Linked DNA regions of Homo sapiens: regions 2, 3 and 4 are each linked to region 1. Evidence: promoter capture Hi-C in 16 types of primary human blood cells and fetal thymus (Javierre and others, 2016). All regions are on one chromosome and are shown on one strand. Each heading gives the region's core, a stretch centred on a gene start or on the middle of the fragment in contact. The rest is flanking DNA. Distances are from core to core; before and after follow the strand shown.

What was found. Contacts are between HindIII fragments. The CHiCAGO score rates a contact against its expected background, and 5 or more counts as called.
Region 2: a contact is called between a fragment that was not itself captured here and the fragment with the promoter of CTDSPL2 in region 1, in 1 of 17 cell types (neutrophils). The highest score is 5.7, in neutrophils.
Region 3: a contact is called between a fragment that was not itself captured here and the fragment with the promoter of CTDSPL2 in region 1, in 2 of 17 cell types (erythroblasts and endothelial precursors). The highest score is 6.3, in erythroblasts.
Region 4: a contact is called between a fragment that was not itself captured here and the fragment with the promoter of CTDSPL2 in region 1, in 1 of 17 cell types (endothelial precursors). The highest score is 5.6, in endothelial precursors.

Annotation. Positions count from the first base shown.
Region 1 is chr15:44,425,108-44,429,970 of GRCh38, forward strand. It overlaps CTDSPL2 (CTD small phosphatase like 2), which reads left to right and starts at 2,522. Exons shown (of 13, transcript NM_016396.3): 1 at 2,522-2,665. LOC124903479 (a long non-coding RNA gene) reads left to right here. Exons shown (of 3, transcript XR_007064605.1): 2 at 660-866; 3 at 1,187-1,210. RefSeq lists enhancers at 1,424-2,031, 1,686-1,915, 2,032-2,639, 2,196-2,575, 2,640-3,246. The HindIII fragment of the contact is 7,080 bases long and covers 1-4,863 here.
Region 2 is chr15:45,407,175-45,412,037 of GRCh38, forward strand. AFG2B (AAA ATPase AFG2B) reads left to right here. Exons shown (of 8, transcript NM_024063.3): 3 at 3,198-3,356. Among named protein-coding and RNA genes, the nearest start is that of AFG2B, 7.3 kb to the left of the region's middle. The HindIII fragment of the contact is 2,095 bases long and covers 1,144-3,238 here.
Region 3 is chr15:43,841,368-43,846,230 of GRCh38, forward strand. WDR76 (WD repeat domain 76) reads left to right here. Exons shown (of 13, transcript NM_024908.4): 6 at 1,048-1,149; 7 at 1,261-1,304; 8 at 2,534-2,687. Among named protein-coding and RNA genes, the nearest start is that of WDR76, 17 kb to the left of the region's middle. The HindIII fragment of the contact is 2,674 bases long and covers 1,477-4,150 here.
Region 4 is chr15:43,875,430-43,880,292 of GRCh38, forward strand. The region is part of intron 13 of FRMD5 (FERM domain containing 5); the gene reads right to left. It also overlaps the pseudogene PIN4P1. Among named protein-coding and RNA genes, the nearest start is that of WDR76, 51 kb to the left of the region's middle. RefSeq lists an enhancer at 3,620-4,863. The HindIII fragment of the contact is 2,504 bases long and covers 822-3,325 here.

The sequences.
Region 1 (4,863 bases), core at 1,272-3,771:
GGCATGTTTTTCTTCTTTTTTCAAATTTCAGTGTCTTCAACTGAAAGGCAGGGAACAAATACCACCTATTTTACCTACCTCATAGGGTTGTTAGAGAATCAAAATGCATATAAAAGTGCTCTTTGGAAATAGCGTATTTTACTTAAGTTTTAGGAACGTGAAGGTTTGAAATAACGATTTCTTGGAAATTTTTTCCCCCAGAAATATTTCTAATTTTTACCTGATTTAAAAATAACTTTATTAGCCAGTCCTCGGTACTGGGAGGCTGAGGTGGGAGGATCACTTGAGCCCAGGTGTTTAAGGATGCAGTGAGTTATGATCATGCCACTGCACTCAAGCCAGGGGTACAGAGGAAGTCCTTGTCTCTAAACAAAAAGCAAAACAAAACTTTAGGGGCTGTGTGCAGTAGCTCAGGCCCGTAATCCCAGCACTTTGGGAGGCCAAGGCAGGAAGATGGCTTGAACCATGGATTTTGAGGTTGCAATGAGCTTTAATTACTTCAGCCTGGGGAATGGAGTGAGACCCTGTCTCTAAAAATAAATAAATAAATAAAATAAACTTTAGTAATAATGGGGTAACTGTTTAGTTGGTATTTTACTGCTTTCCATGATACACTCTGGATAAACTAATTATTTGTTGGATTCCATTGAACTTTTCAGGAATCTATTTTTGTGTGTGTGGACTGTTACTATTAATAGTTCTGTGCTGTGTATACCACCAGCTCCCAATAAATGTCGCATTCAGAGCATTTTTGCACTAGGAAGATTTAGGGTGCAAATGAACTCTGACAGAAGAATCTGTAGTATACAAGGTTTTCAGAAGACAACCCACCTGCTCCATACTTCGAAATAATGAGATTCACAACGGTATGTTATTTCTGCTTACTTCTCAGCCTCTCTTGCCATCTTCCCCCTGCCCTCCCATCCTCTTTTCTTAGCGCACAGAACTACTTCTCCAATGGCTCAACACAGTCTCATCTTTGGACTTTTCCGTCTGTTGTTTCCTTTACCCAGACACTCTTCCCCTGCAACACACACTCCTCCTTTTTGTCTCAGATGTTATCTTACGAAACCTTCCCAGACCCCCTCGCCGGCACTCTCATGTGTTTTACAACGCCTATCATGCCATCCTTGTATTCGCTTTATCAGTTTTTAAATTCTGTTTACTTGGGTGTCTTCTTCAATAGATTATGATCTTTGGCCGGGCGCGGTGGCTCACGCCTGTAATACCAGCACTTTGGGAGGCCGAAGCGGGCGGATCACGAGGTCAGGAGTACGAGACCAGCCTGACCAACGTGGTGAAACCCCGTCTCTACTAAAAATACAAAAATTAGCCGGTCGTGGTGGCGCGCGCCTGTAATCCCAGCTTCTCGGGGGGCTGAGGCAGAAGAATCGCTTGAACCCGGGAGGTGGAGGTTTGAGCCGAGATCGCGCCACTGCACTCCATCCTGGGCGACAGAGTGAAGACTCCGTCTCGAAAAAAAAAAAAAATCATTACCTTTGGGGAAGGCAGTATCCGTGTCTGCCTGGCTCACTGTTTTACCCGTCGCACCTAGTTATTTTTTCAATAAATATTTCTTGATTGAATAAGGAGAGTGGCTTGGAGTTTCAGTGAAAAATGTTCTTCCAAACACTAGGCTTGGTTTTCCGATACCCCACTAGAACTGGATTCTCTGGACTGATACATTTTCACTCTGTGGAGCTGACCGTCCTTTGACCTAGGGTCGCAGGTGGGAGCCCACTGGCCTGAAAGATCCGAGTTTTCAACCTGCAGAATCACCGCCAACATAGGGTTGAGTCGAAGGGCATGAATATTTATGATCCAAAAGCGACTGCTACGCCCTCTAGGCAATGAGCTGGAAAGGGAACCTTCAAGGGCCACCGAAATCCCAGGAAAGGCGCCAGATTCGCTTTCTCCCGGCCTCAGGCAGCTCTCCCTACGAACTACCTCCTCCAGCGCGCCAAGCCGTTAGTCCCGCCTTATCCCCTCAGCTCCACCTACCCAGCGCGCCCACAGTTACTAAACCCTAGCCGCCAGGGTGCACTACGCGTTCCTAAGCCCCGCCTCCGGGGCAAGGGCGCGCTCCCCCTCCCAGCTCTGCCCAAGCAGTTCCGTTAGGAGCGGGAGGAAAAACCGTCCTTCGGGTCCCCGCCTCTCCACTCCTAACGCTTTACTCCCTACTCCCCCTGCGACCACTACACAGCCGGCTACGGAGGCCCCTAATGTACAAATATCCCCCAGGCCCTTGCTCATCCTGATAGGTTTTGTCCTTTCTTAATCGACCCAGTACTAAGGCCTTGTGTTCAGTTTTTCTCCAGGATTCAGACTAGAGAGTTTCTTCCGGCGTAAGGAACTTCAACGCTCTTCACGGAAGTAAAAGTGTTTTTTTGGTTGTTGTTGCCGTTGTGGCTGCCCGCATTCCTTCCCTCCCACCTCGCGGAATTGTGGCGGGAGGGGGAGGAGGAAGTCAGGGCGCCTGCGCGGAGAGGCCGCTTTCCATCCGGGTCCCTGTCCGTGCGGTGCAGCAGGTCGGTAGGCGGGAAATGGCGACTGGCTGAAGGAGCTGGTTCTGTTGCTGCTGCGGGGTAAGCGGGAAAGACACCACACATTGCGCAGTCGGGACCATCGCCGGAGCCTGAGGACACTTCTCTGTCGTCACAGTTAGGTAATCCCCTTCGTCCAGACGCCGCCGCTGCTTCCAATCTCAGTCCTCCTCCTCTTCCAGGGCCGTCTGCCGGGATCTCCTCCCCTTCTAAACCTGGTCCTCCAGCGGCTCTGGCGCCTTGGTAGGCATGCACTCTTTGGCGCCTCGTACGTCCACTGTGCGGAGCCGCTCCTGTCTGGACTTTCCCCTGGGAACAGAAAGGGAGCTCACTTCCCGCCAGCTTCACCTCTTAGGTTGCGGCCTGCGTTGTGATTTCTGGGGTTAGATTTCACTTTGCTACCCACCCCCACTCCGATCTCAAGTTCCTAGTCCCCAACCTCTGGGTAATTAAGTTAGAAGTTTAGCTTTTTTTAACCTTTTTGGCCCACCTCATGTTTTCAGCATTTCATTCTTTGGAGTAGGGTGCTTTTAGGGGGGCGTTGCTCTTATCTCAGTTCTTATAAACACCTTTTCAGAATCTGGAAGAAGGGATTTGACTAAGTTCTGTTTATCTTTTGTACTGTTAAAATCTCGAGTTGACATTGTTACTTTTTCAAATCGGGAGTGGTAGTAAAGAACAGTCCATGTGGAAGGCGTCTGGTTTCCACAGTGGTCAGTTAAAGAGTGAACCTTATTATCCTTAATATTCTCTGCTTTCTTTGGATTTTAAATGTCTGTATGGGTGTTTACTTTTGCATTCTTGACCAGAGTTCTGTGGTAAATAATTGCATAAGTAAATCTTGTTTATTTACTTCTCACCCTAGTGGTGGCTGGATGTGTGAATGATGTTAAACACTTCAGCGTACCTTAGGGAAACCTAAAGAGATCTAAGAGCTCGTAAACTTACCTGAGATCCTGAAATGAAACGTACTCAGTAGATGTTCCTCCGAGGCAGGGATTTATCTTCCTAATGCTGGTAACGCAGTACCAAGATGAATTTCTTCAGTGGGTATACAAATTAGTGACTTGAAATGATGGATTTATCTGTGTAATTTTCAAATTGTAGATTGCTTTGTCTCCCCATTCTTCGCCCAGTTTTAAATTTTCGTTCCTGGTCCATTTTTTATTCTTAGAAAAGGGAAATGGCGTGTTAAAGCTAGTTTTACTATATTTCTTTACTTTTTCTTTCCTTTTTTTTAAATTACATTGCAGACCAATTGTTCATAAAGAGAAGTAATAAGGAGGCTGTTGGTGTTTTCGGAATTTATTAATCATGTTGAATTTGGGATCTTTGTAGGTTTTTTTGTTTTCACTAATCAAATTAAAATTTTAAAAACTGTTCACATTGAATATCAGTTGATATTTATAACTCAGGTTTTCAGTTCTGGATAGGTCCAGTTTAGAGAATTTCACTATTGTTTGCACGATGTTATGGTTAATTTTCAATAATAAACAGGAACACACAAACATTATTATAATCCTCATTTGGTAGACTTTGCCCAAGGTCATAAAGAAAGTCAAGGCAAAAGGTAGCTCTTATGTGAAGGAGTTTTTTAGGATTAAGTTGAGCTTCATACTTTCCTAAGGCGAATAGAATAGTGGAGGTACAGGCACGTTAACTACTTGCCGAGTCAGTTTATTTAAAAAATGGAGCCAAATATGCAACTTAAAGGGATCTTAAATCATTGGTCTAGTGTGTAGGTTTTGTCTGTATTTTAATGACCTTTTTGGGTAGTTAATAGCGTTAATGTTTTTAATAAAAATTAGTTTGCAGCTAGCTGAGTGAGCATTGTAGACCTTGTTTTCAAGAGTTCTCCTAAATTGTTTAGTACTACGTGCATTCAGTACTTGCACTCTTTTAATGCTTTCTCAGAGTTGAAAGAACGTATAAGCTGGCTGGGTGGGGTGGCTCACGCCTGTAATCCCAGCACTTTGGGAGGCCAAGGCAGGCGGATCACAAGATCAGGAGTTCGAGAACAGCCTGGCCAACATAGTGAAACTCCATCTCTACTAAAAATACAAAAATTAGCCGGGCATGGTGGTGCACACCTGTAGTCCCAGCTACTCGGGAGGCTGAGACAGGAGAATCGCTTGAACCCAGGAGGCGGAGGCTGCAGTGAGCTGAAGACCACCCCACTGTACTCCAGCCTGGTGACAGAGCGAGACTCCGTCTCAAAAAAAAAGAATGTAAAAGCTATAAATGATGTAGTCCTTAACCTTTGTGGACTTGTAGCTATATAGAAAATCTAAATAGGATTGCATAGGAATGTCAGGGTTTG
Region 2 (4,863 bases), core at 941-3,440, 980 kb after region 1:
AGTGGAAGGAAGAAAGGCAAAAAGCATGAAGGGACAGACAACTGGGAAGGTACTGGCTCCATCTTTTATTCTTTCCCCCACCAGCTGAGGGGCTGCTGCTACCTCTCCCTGTACCAGGGCAGATAAGGGATACCTTACACTTTGTTAAACTTTTTGTGAAGTATTCCTATTAAAGGATTAGAACTGTAGTTTAACACTCAGACACACACAGAGGGGAAAGAATGTATAAGCCCAAAGAATCAAGTAAAATAATGTGTACACACATGATCTTGAACTATAAATGAGATTTTCAAATATTAGTTCGTGTTACCTAAAGATTAGTTAATATTTGGACATCAGACACCTAACATACTATCAGCCAGTTAAAAAGGCTTTTTTTTAAGTATATAATAGGGTTATTCATGAGAAATGAAGATAGAAAATTATAAAGAACTGCCTACCTGAAATCTCACTTTCCAGAGATGACAATTGTTAACACTTTTGGGAGAATACTTTACAGAATAGCTCTATACATACAGATTCACTTAACATCTGTTTACAAATAAGAAAAGACAGTTTGTTTTTGAAAACGGGAATTTGTGGACAACTAGATGTTTAGAATTGGATATAAGAGGGCAAATACTTTAATAAATACAGTACAGATATTTTTAATAAAATTTTCAGGACTTTTTAACTAACAAAAAAAAATGTGTTTCACTAGAATGATCAAGGAGAATGTAAAGAGTCTCCAAAATATAACCTGAGAGTGAAGACGACTTCTCTAGGCATAACATAAACCTTAATAGCCAAAAAAGAGATTATTTGCTGAGTTGACCATTTGGGGGTGGCAAAACAATACTATAAAGTAGTCAGACTAGGAAAAATACTTTTAGTCCAATTTCCTTGATAGGGAATGAACAAATCTTACAAATCAGTAAGAAAAGACCAACAGTCCAAGAGAAAATGGGTAATGGGGTATGAACAGGTAGTTGACAATAAAAGGAATGACAATAAACATGAAAGATGTTCAACCTTGATTTCTTCTAAAATTATTGTCTTTATTTTGAAATAATTAAAACTTATAGGAAAGTTGCAAGATAGTTACAAAGAACTTCCACTAAACCCTTTATCCAAATTCACCAATTTTTAACTTTTTGCCAAATAAGCTTTATCATTCTCTTTTGCTCTCCTTGCTCCCTCTCCTCTTCTCTTTCTCTCTCTCTCTGTCATCTCCATATATATGTATTTATATGCACATAGTATTTATTTATTTTGGACTATTTGAGAGAATGGGTTGCATATATCATGACACTTTATCCCTTAACATTTTAATGTCTATTTCCTAAGAACAGAAATGTTCCCATATGTCACCACAGTATGGTGATGTATAGTGTTGTGTCCTTAGAGCCTCACATGTAGAGGCACAGAGTGTACATTGGTTCCTCATTGGTGATGCTAACTTTTATCAACTAGTTCAGGCAGTGCGCAGTTTCTCCACTGTGGAACTGCTATTTTTCCCTTTGCCACTAATGAGAAATCTGTGGGGAGACACTTTGAGATATCCTGCTCCTCATCAAACTTTCAGGCTGGGCACAGTGGCTTACACCTGTAGTCCCAGCTGCTCAGGAGGCTGAGATAGAATGATCACTTGAGCCCAGGTGTTCGAGGCTCAATGAGCTGTTGCCTCAATGCCACTGCACTCCAGCCTGGGCAGCAGAGCAAGACCCTGTCTCATAAATGAATAAACTTTTACTCCCCTCAACATAGCATCCAATTCTTGCTCATAACAGCCTTTACTATCATGATTGCAAGACGGGCGATTTTTTTAATTCCAATATTCCCTCTACCTCATTTTGAATTGAAGAAATTTAGTTAACACAGTAATGAATGAGTACTGGTTCTTCCTGTCATATTGGCAGACATTTAAGAGTTTGGAAATGGGCCACGTGCGGTGGCTCACACCTATAATCCCAGCACTTTGGGAGGCTGAGATGGGTGGGTCAGTTGAGGTCAGGAGTTCAAGACCAGCCTGGCCAACATGGGGAAACCCCGTCTCTGCTAAAAATACAAAAATTAGTCAGGTGTGGTGGCTCATGCCTATAAATCCCAGCTACTCGGTAGGCTGAGGCACGAGAATCATTTGAACCCAGGAGGCGGAGGCTGCAGGGAGCCAAGATCACAGCACTGCACTCCAACCTGGGTGACAGAGTGAGACCCCGCCAAAAAAAAAAAAAAAAAGAGTTTGATAATGTCTGTACTGGAGAGGTGTGGAGAGAACACAGCTTCATATTATCGGAGAAGAATAAATTGTTGCAGCTTCCTTAGAGGACAATTTGGTAATAGCTGTCAAAATTGTATATGTGTGTACTTGTAAACCCAGTAATTCTACTTTGAGGAAATTATTACATAAAATACTTGAACATGAGTTTGAACATGGTGGCTCATGCCTGTAATCCCAGCACTTTGGGAGGCTGAGGTGGGAGGATCGCTCGAGCCCATGAGTTCCAGACCAGCCTGGGCAACATAGGGAGACCGCATCTCTACAAAAAAAAAATATATATATTTTTTTAATTAGCCAGGCTGGTGGCACATACCTGTAGTTCTAGCTACTCCGGAGGGTGAGGTGCAAGGATTACTTGAGCCTGGGAGACTGCAGTGAGCTATGATAACATCACTGCATTCCAGCCTGGGTAACAGAGTGAGACCCTGTCTCAAAATAAACAAATACTTGAACATGAGCACAAAGACTTTTTCAGTTGCAGCTTTGTTTTTAATATCTAAAGACTGGGGATGACCTAACGTTTGTCAGAAAGGTGTAGTTGGGGTAAATTCAGTAGTGTATTATGGAATTGTCAAAAAGAATGACGTAGAACTGTGTTAGTTGACATGAAAAGCTCTCTAAGATAGGTGAAAGAAGAAAAGTACAGGCTGATATAGTATGGTTCCATTTGTGTATCTGTTTAAAAGGATATATGTATGCTTACTAGCATAACATACTGGAAAAATACACAAACTCTTGACATCTTTCGGGGAAGAATTACTGGCAGGAATTGGCAGGGAGACATTTAATTCTTTGTACTATGTATATAAATTGTTTTTATAATGATAACAAAATAACTTTACAAATCCAAAAGAAGATTTTAAAAACAAATTGTGCTATAAAAAAAGACCAACCTAATTTTTGGTTTGATTTTGCTTTTTTGGGTGTATTTCTTCAGAACCAGGACAATCCTGTGATTGATGAAATAGACTTCCTTGAAGCTTTTAAAAATATTCAGCCCTCATCGTTTCGAAGCGTCATTGGATTAATGGATATCAAGCCTGTTGACTGGGAGGAGATTGGTGGCCTTGAAGATGTAAAACTGAAGTTAAAACAGGTAAGACAGATAATCTACTTAATCCAGTAGGATATTACAGATTAACATTCTGTGCATTTATGATGACAACATACTGCGCTGAAACTGCTCTTGCTCCTATCACTAATGTGATCCTAACATCTAAATCCAATGATTGCTTTTCAGTCCTTATTTAATTGGACTTCTGTGGATGTCTAAACTGGTTTTTATAATTTCCCACCTCGACCCTCTCTTTGTTTTTGCTTTAAAGAGTTTATAACCTAAGGCTGGGTGTGGTGGCTTATGTCTATAATCCCAGCACTTTGGGAGGCCAAGGGAGGAGGATTGCTTGAGTTCAGGAGTTCAAAACCAGCCTGGGCAACATAGCAAGCCCTTGTCGCTATTTAAAAAAAAATAAGTTTATAATCTAAGGCTGGGCGCAGTGGCTCATACCTATAATCTCAGCATTTTAGGAGGTTGAGGTGGGTGGATCACCTGAGGTCAGGAGTTCAAGACCAGCCTGGCCAACATGGTGAAACCCCGTCTCTACTAAAAATACAAAAATTAGCTGGGCATGCTGGCAGGTGCCCATAATCCCAGCTACTCGGAAGGCTGAGGCAGGAGAATCACTTGAACCCGGGAGGCAGAGGTTGCAGTGAGCCAAGATCCCACCACTGCACGACAGCCTGGGCAACAGAGAAACCGTGTCCGGGGGGAAAAAAGTGTATAACCTATAGTCTTAGCACTTTAGAAGGCCGAGACAGGAGGATCTCTTGAGGCCAAGAGTTCAAGACCAGACTGGGCAACAAAGTAAGACTCCCCATCTCTATTTAAAAAAATTATTTTGACACATGTTTGCTCTGTCACCCAGGCTGGAGTATTGTGTCACAAACACAGCTCACTGCACCCTTGAACTCCTGGGCTCAAGCAGTCCTTCTGCCTCAGTGCCCCACCAAGTAGCTGGGACTACAGGTGCATACCACCACGCCTGGCTAATTTTTAAATTTTTTGTAGAGATAGAGTCCCACTGTGCTACTCAAGCTGGCCTTGAACTCCTGGGCTTAAACAGTCCTCCAACTCGGCCTCCTAAAATGGTGGGATTATAGTCATGAGCCACCATGCCTGGCCTACAAAAAATTTTTTTAAATTAGCCAGGTGTGGTAGCACGTGCTTATGGTCCTAGCTACTCAGGAGGATCACTTGAGGCTTGACCCCAGGACACCCAGGAGATCGAGGCTGCAGTGAGCTATGATTGCACCACTGCACTGCAGCTTGGGCAACAGAGCGAGATCCTGTGTCTTTAAAAAAAAATTAAAAAACAATTTTGACTGGGCATGGTGGCTTACACCTGTAATCCCAGCACTTTGGGAGGCCGAGGCAGGCAGATCACCTGAGGTCAGGAATTAGAAACCAACCTGGCTGGCATGGAGAAACCCCATTTCTACTAAAAATGCAAAAAATTAGCCAGGCGTGGTGGCGCATGCCTGTAATCCCAGCTACTCAGGAGGCTGAGGCAGGAGAATCGCTTGAACCCGGGAGGTGGAGGTTG
Region 3 (4,863 bases), core at 1,564-4,063, 580 kb before region 1:
TTTGTATTTTTAGTAGAGATGGGGTTTCACTGCGTTAGCCAGGATGGTCTCAATCTGACCTCATGATCTGCCCGCCTCGGCCTCCCAAAATGCTAGGATTACAGGTATGAGCCACCGCACCCGGCCCACGCATGGCTAATTTTTGTATTTTTAGTAGAAATGGGGTTTCGCCATGTTGGCCAGGCTGGTCTGGAACTTCTGGCCTCAAGCTATTTGCCTGCCTCAGCCTCCCAAAGTGCAGGGATCACAGGTGTGAGCCATGTACCTGGCCTGGTATTTCTATTCTATTCTCATTCACTACAACAAATTGCTAGTTGTGACATACTAACATGATTTCTCACCCACTAATTGGTTACAAACTGTTTAAAAAAATACTGATGTAGGTATAATACTGAGTAATGAGTTAAGATAATCTGAGTCAATTCTCAGCTTCTCCAGTTATTGGCTGTGTGACTTTGGGCAAGTTAACTCCTCTTAAGTTTCTGGGGTTTTTTTGTTTTTGTTTTTTGTTTTTTTTTGAGATGGAGTCTTGCCCTGTCACCCAGGCTGGAGTGCAATAGTGCAGTCTTGGCTCACTGCAACCTCCAACACCTGGGTTCACACGATTCTCCTGCCTCAGCCTCCTGAGCTGCTGGGATTACAGGTGCCTGCCACCACGCCCAGCAAATTTTTGTATTTTTAGTAGAGATGGGATTTCACCATATTGGCCAGGCTGGTCTCGAACTCCTGACCTTGTGATCCGCCTGCCTCGGCCTGCCAAAGTGCTGGGATTACAGTCTCTAAGTTTCAATCCACTGTCTTTAAAATGTGATACCTCATTTGCTAGGTTGTTGAGAGGATTAAATGAGATAATACATGTTATTATTACTTTATAGGGTACCTGGCATTCATTTATTGAACAATTATTTTGAATGTCCATGATATGCCACCATTACTGTTGATGTTGAAAGTGAAGTTGTGGGGAAAACAGACAAATACCCTTGCCCTCCTTGTGTTTATATTCTAGGGCAGGGAGCCCAACAAATAACTTTTTATTTTTTATAACAGCCTTTGTTACCTCCTGGGCCTTTAGAAATGACTTCTGAAAATCAAGAAGACAACAATGAACGATTTAAAGGATTTCTGCACACATGGGCAGGAATGAGCAAGGTATCACTTGGGAAGGCCAATAGCCTTTAGAATCATCTGTTAAGGAAATATATATATATGTAAAAATATATACATACTAACTTAGTTCTTTCATCTCTCCCAATGTTTCAGCCAAGTAGTAAGAACACTGAGAAGGGATTATCTAGCATTAAAAGGTAAGTTGAAATTCCTTGTGTTTCTTTTATATTTTTTGAGATGTTTGAGTTATAAAGACTATACGCCATTTTAGGGAATTTTGAAAGTGAGATGAAATGTTTCCACCCTAACAACTGTTGTTTTTGTGTATTTCCTCACAAGTGTTGCCATATACAATACCACTAGGATATAAGCTTCATATACAATACCACTAGGATATAAGCAAGAATTCTATTTCAATAACCAGAACAGTGCCTGGCACATAATATATGTTCAGTGTTGAATAAATGAGTGAATCCACATACATTTTTACTATATGTTGTAATGTATATACAATTTTGCATTACACTTTTTTCTTTTTCTTTTTTTTTTTTTTTTTTTTTGTTTTTTGAGACAAGGTCTCCCTCTATCGCTTAGGCTGCAGTGCAGTGGCACTATCTTGGCTCATTGCAACCTTCGCTTCCTGGGCTCAAATGATCCTCCCACCTCAGCCTCCCAAGTAGCTTGGACTACAGGCGTGCACCATCACATCTCACTAATTTTTGTATTTGTAGAGATGAGATTTTGCTGTGTTGCCCAGGTTGGTCTTGAATACCTGGGCTCAAGTGAGCTGTCTGCCTTGGACTCCCAAAGTGCTGGGATTACAGGTGTGAGCCAGTGTGCCTGGCCTGCGTTATGTTTTTTTTCATTTGCGGTTGCATGTTACTAGAGTCTTTAAAATTATTGAATAATTATAAAATATTCCATTGAGTAGAAGGAGTTCACTTCTCCTCCTACCTGCTTGGTATTTGCGGTTGTTTTCCATTTAGCTTTGTGTGTTTGTGTATGTGTTTGTTGAAGTATATGGATATGATAGTGGATTATTTCTTTAGGTTAGATTTCCAGAAGTGAGATTAATGCATCAAATATTGTGAACATTTTTATGGCTTTTAGTACACATTGCCGAATTGTTGCTCAAAGGTCTTTTTTTTTCTTCTGAACATTTTATATGAACTTACTCTTCCACTAGCAATATGTGTGAGTATGTGTATTTAACTGCAGCCTACCAGCTTTTGGTGTTATTAAAATTATCAAGGGTAATTTAAAAAGTGAAAGAATATTGCTTAATTTGATTTCCTTGGTTACCAGGAGATTGAATAGTTCCCATATTTATTTGCTAATTGTGATTTTTCTTTTTGAATAATCTTTTACTTATTTTGACTATTGAGATTGGTTTTACTTACAAAATTTAACTTTGTAATTTTCTTAGCTACAAAGCCAATTTAAATGGCATGGTCATTAGTGAAGATACCGTTTACAAAGTTACCACAGGCCCAATATTCTCTATGGCTCTCCATCCATCAGAAACTAGAACTTTGGTAGCAGTTGGGGCCAAATTTGGGCAAGTTGGACTTTGTGATTTGGTAAGTTATTAAATTTCTTGAATATATTATAGTTTGACTAAAGCAAATAGGCTGGAAGAGAATAGGCTAGAGCCATGTGTTTATAAATGTTGCGTGAGACTTACAATTTTGGGCTTTATGATGCTTTATGATTCCAAATTTTAGAAATCTGGAAGAATTTAAATTTGCTTTATAGAACTTTAATATTTTTAGCTTGAATATCATTAACCATCTGGTCATAAATTAACTGCCAGAAAACTTTGTTACACTTTGTGTGATCTTTTCACATATACATTTAAAGTGGCCGGGTGCGGTGGGTCACGCCTGTAATGCCAGCACTTTGAGAGGCTGAGGCGGTCGGATCACCTGAGGTCAGGAGTTCGAGACCAGCCTGGCCAACATGGTGAAACCCCGTCTGTAGTAAAAAAATACAAAAATTAGCTGGGCGTGGTGGTAGGTGCCTGTAATCCCAGCTACTCAGGAGGCTGAGGCAGGAGAATTGCTTGAACCCAGGAGACGGAGGTTGGAGTGAGTCGACACTGTGCCATCCAGCCTGGGTGATAGAGTAAGACTCCGTCTCAAAAAAAAAAAAAGGGCTGGGAGCGGTGGCTCACGCCTGTAATCCCAGCACTTTGGGAGGCCGAGGCGGGTGGATCACGAAGTCAGGAGATCGAGACCGTCCTGGCTAACACAGTGAAACCGCGTCTCTACTAAAAAACCCCATCGCTACTAAAAATGGAACAAATTAGCTAGGCGTGGTGGCAGGTGCCTGTAGTCCCAGCTACTCGGGAGGCTGAAGCAGGAGAATGGCGTGAACCTGGGAGGGGGAGCTTGCAGTGAGCCGAGATCGCACCACTGCACTCCAGCCTGGGCGACAGAGCGAGACTCTGTGTAAAAAAAAAAAAAAAAAAAAAAAAAAAGATCAAAGTTTAGTTTTCTTTTTTTGGAGAGGGAGTCTTGCTCTGTCGCCCAGGCTGGAGTGCAGTGGTGTGATCTCGGCTCACTGCAAGCTCCGCCTCTCAGGTTCACGCCATTCTCTTGCCTCAACCTCCCGAGTAGCTGGGACTACAGGCGCCTGCCACCATGCCTGGCTAATTTTTTCTATTTTTAGTAGAGGTGGGGTTTCCCCATGGTCTTGATCTCCTGACCTCGTGATCTGCCTGCCTTGGCCTCCCAAAGTGCTGGGATTACAGGCATGAGCCACGGCGCCCAGCCCGAAGTTTAGTTTTCTAGTTGTGTTTAAAATATGGTCTGCTATGGTCTGAATGTTTTTGTCTTCCCCAAAATTCATATGTTGAAATACTAATCCCTATGGTATTAGGAGGTAGGACCTTTGGGAGGTGATTAGGTCATGAATAAGATTAGTGCCCTTATAAAAGAAACCCAGGAGAGACCACTGTCCCTTCTACCATATGAGGACACAGCTAGAAGGCACCAACTATGAACCAGAAAGTAGGCCCTTACCAGACACTGAATGAACTGGAAGCTTGATCTTGGTCTTCCTAGTCACCAGGACTGTGAGAAATAAAATGCTGCTGTTGATAAGCCACTCAGTTTATGGTATGTTGTTTTAGCATCCCAAATGGACTAAGAAACAGTTTCTAAGCTGTATCAAAATATCTTCCCAGGGACCTGCTTTGGAATGATTTTAGTTATCTTTGATGAGTCAGAAATAGATACTGAATTCCATTCATTGTGCATATAATTCTGCATGAAATACTGTCTGTTATTACAAAATTGAGAAAAGTCAAGTTAATGTTCTCTGAATTTATTTTCTTATTGGGGAAGAAGACCAAAGACATGAAAAATGCCATAAGGACAATTAATGAAGGTGAAGAAATAGTGGTGACTTGAAGTTGGTTGGGGTTTATAAACAAAATTTGCAAGTTTGAAGACAGAAACCAAGTTCTTATTTTGGGATCATAGATTCTCCCTTATTTTGATAAGATGTGAGTGGGGATAGGAGGTGATAGGATTTAGCAAAGAAAACTGAAGCAAAAAAGTGGGAAGAAGATCAGAATAGTATGTTTTGGAAGCCAAGAGATGAGTTTCAAGGATGGGAGGTTGACAGAGCCTTTTGCAGAGAAGTTAAAAGAATGGAGAAAAGGCCATTGATTTTGAAAATAGGGTACCATGTAGTGAGTTGAGAGAATAGCTTTGACAATGAGGTAAGTAAGGAACAAAGGCTTTAGGAGAT
Region 4 (4,863 bases), core at 824-3,323, 550 kb before region 1:
TGGCCATTTTAGAAGAGTTTTTCTTTGCTTTTTGCTTACGGTTTTGGCCTAGTTTGTGTGTGTTTTGAGATGGAGTCTTACTCTGTCGCCCAGGTTGGAATGCAGTGGTGCAATCTCAGCTCACTACAACTTCTGCCTCCCGGGTTCCAGCGATTCTTGTGTCTCAGCCTTCTGAGTAGCTGGGAATACAGGTGTCTGCCACCACACCCAGCTAATTTTTTTATTTTGAGTAGAGACGGGGTTTTGCCATTTTGGCCAGGCTGGTCTAGAACTCCTGGCCTCCCAAAGTGCTGGGATTATAGGTGTGAGCCACCGCACCCAGCCCCTAATTTGTTAAAGATTCTGCCTTTCTTGCCTTTGGTGTCCTGGGCCTAGTTTTTTTTTTTTTTTTTTTTTTTCTTTCAGTCTTTCATATGATTTTATTTTCTTCCTTCAACCATAATAATATGATATCCAAATTTTGTCTTAACTGCTGGGTCTGTAAACACAGGCTTATCCATCACACTTATAGGCAAGGCAAATGCTGCTTCTTGAAATGGTCCCACCATGGACCCTCTGGTCATCCAACCCAAGACGCCCCCTTGCCTGGCTTTATCTTCACTATATTGTGTGGCCACTTCATTGAATCTCATCCCAGACTTTAACTTTTCCATGGCTTCCATGATTTTGCCATGTTTTTCCCATAGAATGTGTCTGACCTTTACTGCATTGCCACCACCTTTGGGACCTTGAGCCTTCTTGTCAGCACTGTCACTCCCAGAGGCTGCACCCCCTTTCCCCGCTTTTCCAGAACCACTTTTTCCTTTGGGCGGCATCTTGGAAGCTTGTTGTTGAACTCTGAACTCTGGGCCTGGTTTTTACCCCAGTTTGAAAGAATCTGAATTCCAAACTACCCCTGATGCAGAGCTGGGACCACGGTTTGAGTCTCAAGTCTGCCTGTTGGGTGGAGGGCTTTAAGAGGCAGGAATGGGCCAGACACGATGGCTCCCATCTGTAATCCCAGCACTTTGGGAGGCCAAGGCAGGTGGATCACTTGAGCCAAAGGGTTCAAGACCAGGCTGGGCAACATAGACACTGTAACTATAAAATTTTTAATAAAAGAGAGGTAGGAATGGGGAGAAGGGGAATATGTCATGCCTAACTGGGTTTCATCAAATACCGAATATCCTTGTAAAAACCCAGCATACAGCATCTTGAGCTTATAAGGTCAATATTTTTGGATTTCTGCAGCTGCTCTCAGTCTCTTCAGCCTCCGTTCTAGCTGTTCTGACTTTGTGGAATGATGGGGTAGAAACTCTCTCTGCTCTTCTTGAGGGGGCATGGGAGTAGTCCCTGGCCAGCTCCCTCTCTTTTCCTCTGAGAAGGAGCTGGGTCTAGAATAGGCTGAAAAGCTCCCCTATCTTTAGACACTTCAGAGCACAAAACAGTTTGAGAAGATCTTGTTGCGGGGGTGGATTTCTCTTACATTTGGTAGGAGGAAGGGGTATTCTATCCCCTAAAACTACCCATTATCTCTTCTCTCTTCCCAAGGTTCTCACAGGACTCAAGCCCTGGCAGGGAAAACAGGAGCTGGTTACACTCTCAACTGAACAGCAGCCACCCAGGCCAGAGGCTTTGGGCATATAGTGAGTGAGCGCGGCCCCCATCACAGTGCTCCCAAGGAAATGGCTTCTTGTTTTAGGCTCAATGTCTGCATTTTCCACTCCTGGCCATCTTGGTGATGCTGGTGTGGTTCTCTCTGCCTTTGTGACCTATGACAAGAAAAGCCAGTCCCCTTCTGTTGCCCTGAAATAGTCCCTGACAATCCCAGACTGAACCAGATTCCCAGCTCAGTAAAGGTTTTACCTAAGTCAGGTTGATTAGGGAGTTTTTTGGTTCAGGGCTAGCTCCAGAAGCCCAAAGGGTCTCTTTTTTCCCCTTCTTCCAGGACATGAAGCAGTCCAAAGGTCTCTCTTAAAAAGGTGTTAGTAACCTTTCAGAAGCAGTGTGTCCCATCTTCCTTGGCTCCCTCATGGCTTGGCCGTTTGCACCCAGGCAGCCTGCCTGACCAGCCTTGTGGAGCCTGTCTTGGCACAGGCACAGTTAAGGATTCTCCAGAGGAATGAGCCCTGGAATCTGGGTTATGAATGAGTAGGACAATGGGGAGAGAGGGTGGGGGCAAAGGCAGGGCACCTGCCATCTAGTTACGCTCCCCATTGCGTCACGGCTCATATATTTGCCACAGCTCTCAATCTCTGCTTTCAGAAGCTCCTCATAGTCTTAGCTGTATTTTTTGTCCCTGTGCTAAAATCTTAAATTTGTATAATGCTTTCATCTTTTTAAAGCACTTTGATTTTATCTTTCAGTAACTCCACAAGGTAGTGAGGGCAAGAGGTTATCTGAAGTCATGTGGTTGGCAGTTAATGGCAAAACCAAGGATAGAATCCAAGCCGCTTTCTAGTTCATGATCCTGCTGATCATATCTATTAAGTCCTCATGTTGTCAACAGGTTCCTGGAAACCATGACTTTAAGCCAAATGATGTTACAGCAGGTCCTCCAATGTTTTCTTCAGCATCATTTTGTTATAATTTTTTTAAAGTTCTTTAGTTTTTTGAGACAGTCTTACTCCATTGCCTAGACTGGAGTGCAGTGGTACAATCACGGCTCACTGCAGCCTCGACCTCCCAGGCTCAGGTGATCCTCCCACCTCAGCCTCCTGAGTAGCTGGGACTACAGGCATGTGCCACCACGCCTAGCTAATTTTCGTATTTTTTGTAGAGACAGGTTTTTGTGCTGGGATTACAGATGTGAGCCACCACGCCCAGCCCCATTTTGTTATAATGTTGATGAGAAAAAAAAAAGTTTAATTGTACATCATTTTGCTTAAAGTTGCAGTTTCTAAAGACCCTGTCAACGCTGTTAAGTGATGACTTAACTGTAGTCGGATTCCATGGAATGGAACCATGGGCCAGGACGGATTAAATCAACAGCCAGCATCTACCTTAGATTTAGGTCTTAATTGCTCGAGAAACTGTTTTGAAATAACCTGAAATTAAGAGTCTCTGTCCCTTGTTCTAGAGCTCTTGCTGTTCCTCTGATCTCTCTTCCACAGTATTCCTCCCTGATGTCCCCATTTGCACATGCAGCTTGAGGAATATGTACCTTGGGACAGGTTATGGGTCACTGATAAAGCAGAAACCTTAAGGCCCTGGTTGCAGCATATTGCTTGCTTGGCTCCTTTCCCAGGCAGTCCTCAGCCCCATTGCATAGGGCGCCTGCCACCCTTTCAAAGGCCTGCCCCTTCATGAAGACAGCTCTGACTGCAGGATCTTTCAAAGTATGAAAAGCTTAGCTTAACCTACGATTACACCCCTCAGCTTGTGGGGAAGGAGAGGCAGATGCTGTGACATCAGAAGAGGAAAATGTCAGAGGACCACCTGGAGCCACATCATACTGGGAGCTGTTGGTGCTCTCATTAAACAAGATAATGGATAGATAGGCATTTCTTTTTTTTTTTCTTTTCTTTTTTTTTTTTTTTTTTGAGATGGAATCTCACTCCATCTCATTGCCCAGGCTGGAGTGCAATGGTGCAATCTCGGCTCACTGCAGCCTCCGACCCCCGGGTTCAAGTGATTCTCCCACCTCAGCCCTGCGAGTAGCTGGGATTACAGGCGCCCACCACCATGCCCGGCTAATTTTTGTATTTTTAGTAGAGATGGGGTTTCGCCATGTTGGCCAGGCTGGTCTGAGCTCCTGACCTCAAGTGATCTGCCCATCTCAGCCTCCCAAAGTGCTGGGATTACAGGCATGAGCCACCACATCCAATTAGATGTGCATTTCTAGTAGAATGCCTGACAAATACAGTTGCTCAGTAAATATCAGTTGGTCTCCTCCCTTAACAGAAGATCTCACCTGTAAGGTGACCCTCCCACATCAGGTTAGTCCTATATTAGAAACTGTTTTCACTGCTGTAAAAGCCACCACCTGTCCTGCCATTTCATCGAACCTGTTATTTTGGGATAGATGGGATGGGTGCCGTGGGAAGGATCTGCGCTAACTGGCACAGCAAAACAGGAGAGCCTTTTTTACCTTGGAAATGCTCCAGCTGATTCCCTTGCCCGGGGGTCACAGCAGTCAGGACCCTACCCTGGAGCCGGGGCCCCATCCTCAGGATGCGCACACTTAGGGGCCGAAAGCAGTGATTAGTCAGCCGGAGCTGGACCCGGACTCTGGTGTGAATCTTAATCAGACTCTTCCCCATGGTGGCCCAGGAAGGCAAATACTTCTTCAGTGGAAACCAGCTGATCTCTTCAGAGAAACCAGCCAGGCAGGGAGAGATACAGAGAGGCAAAGATGGAAAGCCAACTAGGAACAAAGGATTTCTGCAGATCCCACATCATAGCAGCCCCTTGGCAGTGCCTCGCGTGTTGCAGGGAGAAGGTCACCTCCCCAAGCTTCACATCAGGCTGAACTGCAGGGAAGGAGCAGCTCTGAGAGGCCACCGTTATCAGGGGACTGGATTTAGTCAGAAGCACTTAGAGCCATAAAAAGTAATGCTTCCTTGGCCTGCAGCTCTTTCCCTGAGGCCTGGATAAGGGCTCCAACCTCTCAGAGGGCAAGGGACAGAGGGGGCAGAGAACAATCCCAGAGGGTAAGGGGAATCAAGACCGTCCCAGAAAATCCAGGATGTAAAGTGACAAGGCCATTGGCCTTTATCCAGGCCATATATAGTCCAGGCCTGCCCTGGTGCCAGCCAAGTTGCATGGTCAGCCTAGCTTTGGGGCTGGGTGGCTCTGAAGTGGGAGGAGGTAGTCTCTGTGATACTAAATGGGCCAAATGGACTATAGAAAAGAAAGTCTTTGGTGGAGCATGAACCAATTTAA